2 separate regions of the Homo sapiens genome follow, and region 2 is linked to region 1. Evidence: promoter capture Hi-C in human tissues and cell types (Jung and others, 2019). All regions are on one chromosome and are shown on one strand. The core of a region is centred on a gene start or on the middle of the fragment in contact, and the rest is flanking DNA. Distances in the headings are between cores, read along the strand shown. Region 1 holds the start of CCL21 (C-C motif chemokine ligand 21). Region 2 has its middle 71 kb from the start of SPATA31F3.

Region 1 (3,740 bases), core at 308-2,807:
CAGGTGCCCATAATCCCAGTTACTCGGGAGGCTGAGGCAGGAGAATGGCTTGAACCCGGAGGGTGGAGGTTGCAGTGAGCCAAGATCACGCCACTGCACTCCAGCCTGGGCGAAAGAGTGAGACTCTGTCTCAAAAAAAAAAAAAAAAAAGTAACAACATTGCCAGGTATGCTGGTTCACACTTGTAATCCCATTACTTTGGGAGGCCAAGGCGGGTGAATTGCTTGAGGTCAGGCGTTCGAGACTAGCCTGGGCAACATAGTGAGACCTCGTGTCTACAAAAAATACAAAAATTAGCCAGGCATGGTGGCCCCACTACTCAGGAGACTGAGGTGGAAGGATCACTTGAGCCCAGGAGGTCGAGGCTGCTGTGAGCTGAGATTGTGCCACCGCACTCCAGCCTGGGTGACAAAGCGAGACCCTGTGTCAAAAAAAAAAAAAAAGATAAAAGCTAGTATTGTATTTTTAGTTTGTAGCCCCACTTTTTTCTATATAATTTAAAAGGAAAATGCATTAAACAATAATTATAAATCTATGTCAATGGGAACACAATGTATAAAGATGTAATCTGTGACAATAACAATATAAAGAAGGGACTAAAATGTATACGAGCAAAATGTTTATATACCATTGAAACTAAGTTGGTATTATTCAAACTAGGTTGTTATCAGTTTAGAATGTTAATTATAATCACCAAGGTATCCATTAGGAAAATAACTACAAAATATATAGAAAAGGAAAGCAAAGGGGAATCAAAATGGTTATGCTACAGACCAGGTGCAGTCGCTCATACCTATAATTCCAGCACTTTGGGTGGCCAAGGCAGGAGGATCGCTTGAGCCCAGGAGTTCAAGACCAGACTGGGCAACATAGCAAGACCTCATCTCTAGAAAAAATAAAAATGAAAAATGAAAACAGTAGCCGGACGTAGTGGCATGTGCCTGTGGTCCCAGCTCCTCAAGAGGCTGAGGCAGGCAGATCATTTGAGCCCAGGAGCTCAAGACTAGCCTGGGCTAGACATCGTGAAACCTCGTCTCTACAAAAAAAAAATAGAAAAATCAGCCAGGCGCAGTGGTGCTTGCCTGTAGTCCCAGCTCCTGGGGAGGTTGAGGTAGGAGGATCACTCGAGCCCAGGAGGCGGAGATTTCAGTGAGCCAAGATCAACCACTGCACTCCAGCCTGGGTGACAGAGTTAGACCCTGTCTCAAAAAAAAAAAAAAAAAAAAGAACTCTTACAATTTAATAATCAGATTTGCTGGAAGGAGGGGAAGGGTATGGATCCTGGAGCGTAGTGAGGAGACAGTCATGGTGTTCCAGGGGAGAGGCAGTGAGGCCTGCATGAAAGCAGTAGCTGGGAATAGAAGGAAGGCTCAGGCCCAGACATATTCAACTAATGAGGACATAAAATTTGGCAGCTGAGGACTGTCCACTTAGTTTGAGATAAGTGGGGCTGGGTGCCAGCAAATCCAGCTTTCAGGAAGGAAAAGGAGTGGGGATAAGTTAAGGGAAGTGAAAGTGTCTAGCTACATAAATAGCAGGCCAATCCCAGCCCACGCACAGACCCCCAACTTGCAGCTGCCCACCTCACCCTCAGCTCTGGCCTCTTACTCACCCTCTACCACAGACATGGCTCAGTCACTGGCTCTGAGCCTCCTTATCCTGGTTCTGGCCTTTGGCATCCCCAGGACCCAAGGTACCAAGGCAGGGAGGGGCCTTGCATGGGGCTAAGGGGATCAAGAGGCCTGGATAGGAGCTTGCCAGCAGCCCCTGGCTCCCTGTGAATCCCACCCTGCAGGCAGTGATGGAGGGGCTCAGGACTGTTGCCTCAAGTACAGCCAAAGGAAGATTCCCGCCAAGGTTGTCCGCAGCTACCGGAAGCAGGAACCAAGCTTAGGCTGCTCCATCCCAGCTATCCTGTGAGTGGACACAAAGGGGTGGGTACTGGCTGGTGACGGGGTGGGGAGGGCATGGTGGGCAAGACTAAGAAGGCTTACTAGCCCCCACCCGCAGGTTCTTGCCCCGCAAGCGCTCTCAGGCAGAGCTATGTGCAGACCCAAAGGAGCTCTGGGTGCAGCAGCTGATGCAGCATCTGGACAAGACACCATCCCCACAGAAACCAGCCCAGGGCTGCAGGAAGGACAGGGGGGCCTCCAAGACTGGCAAGAAAGGAAAGGGCTCCAAAGGCTGCAAGAGGTGAGGAATCTGAGGGATGTGGGTAAAGGGGAGCCTCAGTCAGCCCCTCACACCCCTCTTCTGCCCTCACAGGACTGAGCGGTCACAGACCCCTAAAGGGCCATAGCCCAGTGAGCAGCCTGGAGCCCTGGAGACCCCACCAGCCTCACCAGCGCTTGAAGCCTGAACCCAAGATGCAAGAAGGAGGCTATGCTCAGGGGCCCTGGAGCAGCCACCCCATGCTGGCCTTGCCACACTCTTTCTCCTGCTTTAACCACCCCATCTGCATTCCCAGCTCTACCCTGCATGGCTGAGCTGCCCACAGCAGGCCAGGTCCAGAGAGACCGAGGAGGGAGAGTCTCCCAGGGAGCATGAGAGGAGGCAGCAGGACTGTCCCCTTGAAGGAGAATCATCAGGACCCTGGACCTGATACGGCTCCCCAGTACACCCCACCTCTTCCTTGTAAATATGATTTATACCTAACTGAATAAAAAGCTGTTCTGTCTTCCCACCCAAGTACCTGTTCCCATGTGTTTATGTCCACCGAGATGCCAAGGTTCCTACAGGGTGGGGTCACACACTCTGAGCCGAAAGCTCAGGCTGAAAAATGCTATGTTCTCATCTACCCCAAGAGTTTCCTTGCCTCTCAGGTGCCTGCACCCCTGAGCAGTTAAAGGGAGGCTGAAGGACAGGGTAGGACCCAGTCTTCTGAGGCATCCTGCCAATGGAGAGGTGGTGGACATGGAGCACACACCCCCAACAGCTCTGCAGACCTCTGAGACCCTGATTCTGTCCTGCACTAACTCCAGGGGTGACCTTCGGATCTTTTCCATGACCTTCAGACCTTTCCCCAGATATCCCAGAGGCTTCCTCTCTTTTCCCTGGGAACTATTCAATGAGACCCTCCAAGTGGTTCTTTGGAAGGGTCCCTAGGAGGGAAGCTGTGGCTTGGGCCCATCTATAACACAGACAAACACAAGTTATATTGAAACCTGCCCTAGCACAGTTCCAGCCCTGAGAGAGCCCCTGGGAGGCAAAGACCCGAGGGGACTTGCTTCAGCCCTATTCAGTGAAGCTCGGGCCTTGACCTCTCCTCTTTGTTTAATGGGGCTGTTGTGCTCTCCTTCTATTCCTATCTGGGCCCCTGGACTCACTCAGCCTCCTTCCAGATGGAAAAACCTCCTCCCTTTTTTTTTCCTCCTTTCTTTCCTGGCTGGGATCCAGACTACTTTAGCCCATTTAACCCTTTGAAGTCAAGGAATAAGTCTCCTGGGGCAGGTTTTCAGAACCCCAGGATTCAGGTGTGAATCAGTCTCCTCTCCTGGAAGGCCTCAGATGGCTCTCCTCTACCTCTTCCTCCCCAGAGTGAAGACCCTTCTATTCCCCAAATCACCTCCAGGCGGGGAGAGTAGAAGCCATCAGATTGGGCCAGACAATGTGAGAAAGAAGGGAACAGATCCTGGGGAAGGGCAAGAAAGGTAGGAACCTCAAGGCCGGGCGCGGTGGCTCAGGCCTGTAATCCCAGCACTTTGGGAGGCCAAGGCAGGCGGATCATGAGGTCAGGAGTT
Region 2 (3,832 bases), core at 299-2,798, 120 kb before region 1:
TTGGCAAAGTCAAGAGCTAAGAGAAATAGGGGTCATAGCCTATGACTTATGTGGAATGCTGATGGTGGATGAAGCCTTGCTCATCCCATAATCCCTGCATAAATCCATGTTCTATCTTCCCCAGGGTGAAGAGAGGCAAGAAGCAAAAGTCACATGAAGGGTATAAACTCAAGAATTTACTACTTCAGGTTTGGGGGTAGATGCTAGGAATACATCAGTGCTTGCTTGGGATCTTTGGGTTCACCTCTGGCACACTCAGGTAACAACATGTCATGGTGAATGGCCCCAACCTTCTAGAGCTCTTCTCTTGGGCTTTCCAGAAGGGCACTTCGGAATTGGCTGGAGGGAATTTCAGGAAACCGACCACCAGCAGTGGGAGGAGGGTGGCTTCTCCACAACATCACTTGTGTTCAACGCTGAGTTGTTGAGGGCAGGGACTGTGACTGCTTCACTTCTATACCTGCTCACTGCAGCCCAGGCAGGGAGGGCAAGGGACACAGGATGAACACAGGAATAGACTCCATGGAGACACTGCTTCCTGCACCATGTGGGAGGTGGCTGGGCCTCTGCTGCTTAACCAGACAACCAGGGCCGAATGCTCTACCTGGCCTCTGGAGCCCATGGTCTAGGCCAGGCCTGCCATAGATGGAAGGGCCAGAATGGCCTCTGTGTCCACTGCAGGGACAGAGGAGAAGGGAGGACTTCCTTGAGCTCAGGTGGCAATATGACAGATAAGCACAATCCAGGCATGTAAAGTGCTTAGGGACACAAAGGACCAGATGCCTCACAGGGCTGACCAGGCTTACAGAGGTCTGTGCATTCTCATGCCCGGAGACAGTGAGGCCAGGACCCTGGGAGAGCATGGGGAGGGAGAGGGGGGCCTGGGAAGAGGCCAGTGAGATCCAGTTTCCAGAAGGAGGGGTGGGTGCTGCCAACTACCCCCCTTTCCTGCCTTGTCCCTCTCCTCCTCTATAAACTTCTCTCGTGTTCTTGCCTGGTCCACAGCCAGGCAAGTAGCATACTAGGGGATTTCCAGAGTGTATCAATTCCAAGGTCAGGCCTACTACAAAGGCCACAGGGGCGGGTCCCTGGGCAGGCAGACTGACCCATGGGAATCCAGACGGTGGGAAGGGAAGCCCTCCTTGCAGTAAATTGTGCTAGCAGCTAGGGTGTATCAGGGCAGAGGGGGAAGATACGGTGAGGGGCCAGGGCAGAATTACACACATATGGTTTTGCCATAATGGCAAAAACCACAATTACTTTTGCACCAACCTAAGAGTTCAGAGTAAGCACAAACATGTCAAGAAAAACACACTTATGTCTTCCTTGGACATGACTTGGGTGTTCTTGGACTCATGAACTTGGATTTGGGTGTTCATGAGTCCTTGGGTGTTCAAGGACTCATGAACACCCTGCATCAGACATGCTCGAGCAAACAGTCAAAAATGCACAGACACAAAGACAAGTTGACAAGTTTGCACACAGAACAGACAGCCCATCTTACAGACCCACAGACACAAATGCAGTCCAAATCCATCCTGCAAAGACCCTCTCCTCCATAAATCCTCTAGGCTACCTCAGACCAGGCTCATCTCTCCTTTAAACTTTGGTTTGTCATTTCTGTCCCATTGCTTGTCCTTTAATAGGATAGTTTTGGTTTCACATGCATACCTCTGGTCTCAACAATGTGGCTGTGTGCTCTTAAAGAACGTCAGGGTCAGGAAGAGAGTCCTCTTCAGCAGCCTCATCCTTCGCCTATACACCCATCACCCTGAGGGCCCCCAATTTACTGCTGGCTCCATCCTTGAAGGGTCCTGACTCTCAGACTCTTTGACATAGCAGACACAAGGGAAGAACAAACCACGTAGACACACTTAGTCCACGTTATCCTCGGGAAACCATGAAGAACCAGGTCCTGGTTCCCCAGTTAGAAAACCCTTACACAAGACATGATCTCATATGTAGCTCTAGCCTAAACTTTATGTTAACCACAATCCCACCCCTATCGACCACACCTCTAAACCCAACTCCAACCCCATTTCCAAAGAAACCTCTAAACCATAGTTTTTCAAATAAGAAGGAACAACTGTACCTCAGACAGGTAATACTAGTGACTGTGATCCAAAATGTTTACATGGCCAAATAAGTTTGAGATAGAAAACTGATCCGCCCTCTCCCCAGCAGCTTAATGCCTACCTTCCCTAGCTGGACCACAGCTATAGTGACCACTCTGTACCCATGAACTGTGGAGGACCCAGAAACAGCAAACAACCTGTCATCTATACAAGATTAACACATGTTATGCATAAGCCTAAGTCCCTCTCCACACTATCTTGAAAGCTTAAAATCAGCCTCCAACACAAAATTTATCTCTTTGTCTAAATTCTAAATGCCAGCAGTGCCTTACTCCAACCCTAACACCTTCCTCATCTAAGATACACCAACTTCTATCAACAGGAACCACAAACCTAGTTCCAAACCCTACTTTAATATCACCATGATTCCCACCCTATCCTTACCACTACCTCACTCCAAACTGGAACCATAACATCAATGCTGTTCTAAGCATAATTCTAACTCTAACTGTAACCCTAGGTAGCTATACATTGAGGAATACATACATCTATGCTAGGCACACACATTTTGCACACATATGTGTCATATATTTCCCCAGGAGCTCAGGAGATCTTTCAATAACAGCTGCACAGTCCATGGGGCATCTTGTTTGGGAAGACTCAATGCTCACCTGGGAACCCAGGAACAGCCATGCCCCCAGACTCTGTGACCCTTGTCGGATATACAGGCCTATAGGGCCCAGCCCACTCCAAATTCTGTTGCAGAACTAGCCCAGCCCTTGAGCTGAAATTCCCACCGTACCCCTCTGTGGCTCTTACCTGCCAAGCTGGGAGCATCTCCTGCCCTGGAAACTCTACCAGGCGAGAGCAAACAGGCCCTGAGGGTGAAGGGAGTGTGGTCCTTTCCAATGTGGGGATTTCCAGACTCTTGCAACACCCAAACCTAGGACGTCTACTCCAGAACTGGCCCAGGTGCCTGTCCTAGAGAGGTAGTGGGCCTGCTAACACTGTGGCTGAGGTAGATGTGAATAAGCACAGTTCCTCTCACCTTCCAGGATCTCAGTCTGGTGATAGAGTGTTAGATCTGAATTCATCATCACAGGTAGGGCTGAAGTCATGTGTGGCTCAGTCTCTTCTCGGCTGCCTCAGTGCCTCCCTCTCAAGCTTCCAGGTTCGCCCACAGACCAGAGTGTGGGCAGAGACTCACTATCCCATTCTTGCTCTCAGGGCAGCTGTTTTCTGACCTAGTTTTTCATCCAGCCAGGTTTCCACCTCCAGCAAAGCTTCCCCCCTTTCCTTTGGGCTCCTAACTTTTTTCTAAGCCACAGGACCAAGCAGGGAGGCCCCAACGTCTCCAGGATGGAACATCTCTCTGAGGCTGCTCAACCACTGAAGGCTCTAGGTGACAGGTAGGGGCTTAGAGTCTATACTAGAAAGAGCTTCCTGAATCTAGAAAAGGTAGGCAAGGATGGGACCCGAAGGTGCTGTGGACACCATCTGACACTAACAAATGGCCTCCTGGATGGCATGACCAAGGGCAAAGGGACAACAGGATGTTTTGAGTGAGATAGGGAAACTGGGATTCTAGGAGAGGAAGAAGCACAGCCCCTTCCTCTTCCCTGCCATGTTCCCCCTAGCTTTCTCAGAGGCAGTGCCAGGCTGGAAAGTCCCTTCCCTAGGTGAGCACCACTCCAGCTTCTTCGGACAATCTTTTTTTTTTTTTTTTTTTTTTTTTTTTGAGACGGAGTCTCGCTATG

The links. The method cuts DNA at HindIII sites, captures the fragments that hold promoters and counts their contacts. A contact is called where the count stands out against the background at its distance.
Region 2: a fragment that was not itself captured here is called in contact with the fragment with the promoter of CCL21 in region 1 in 2 of the 25 tissues and cell types used here (dorsolateral prefrontal cortex and lymphoblastoid cells).

What each region holds. Positions count from the first base shown.
Region 1 is chr9:34,707,953-34,711,692 of GRCh38, reverse strand. CCL21 (C-C motif chemokine ligand 21) reads left to right here and starts at 1,557. Exons shown (of 4, transcript NM_002989.4): 1 at 1,557-1,693; 2 at 1,796-1,916; 3 at 2,011-2,193; 4 at 2,266-2,688. The coding sequence starts at 1,627. The coding sequence ends at 2,299. It also overlaps a transcript of PHF24 not described here. The HindIII fragment of the contact is 9,492 bases long and covers 1-3,740 here.
Region 2 is chr9:34,823,184-34,827,015 of GRCh38, reverse strand. It overlaps a transcript of PHF24 not described here. Among named protein-coding and RNA genes, the nearest start is that of SPATA31F3, 71 kb to the left of the region's middle. The HindIII fragment of the contact is 6,147 bases long and covers 1-3,832 here.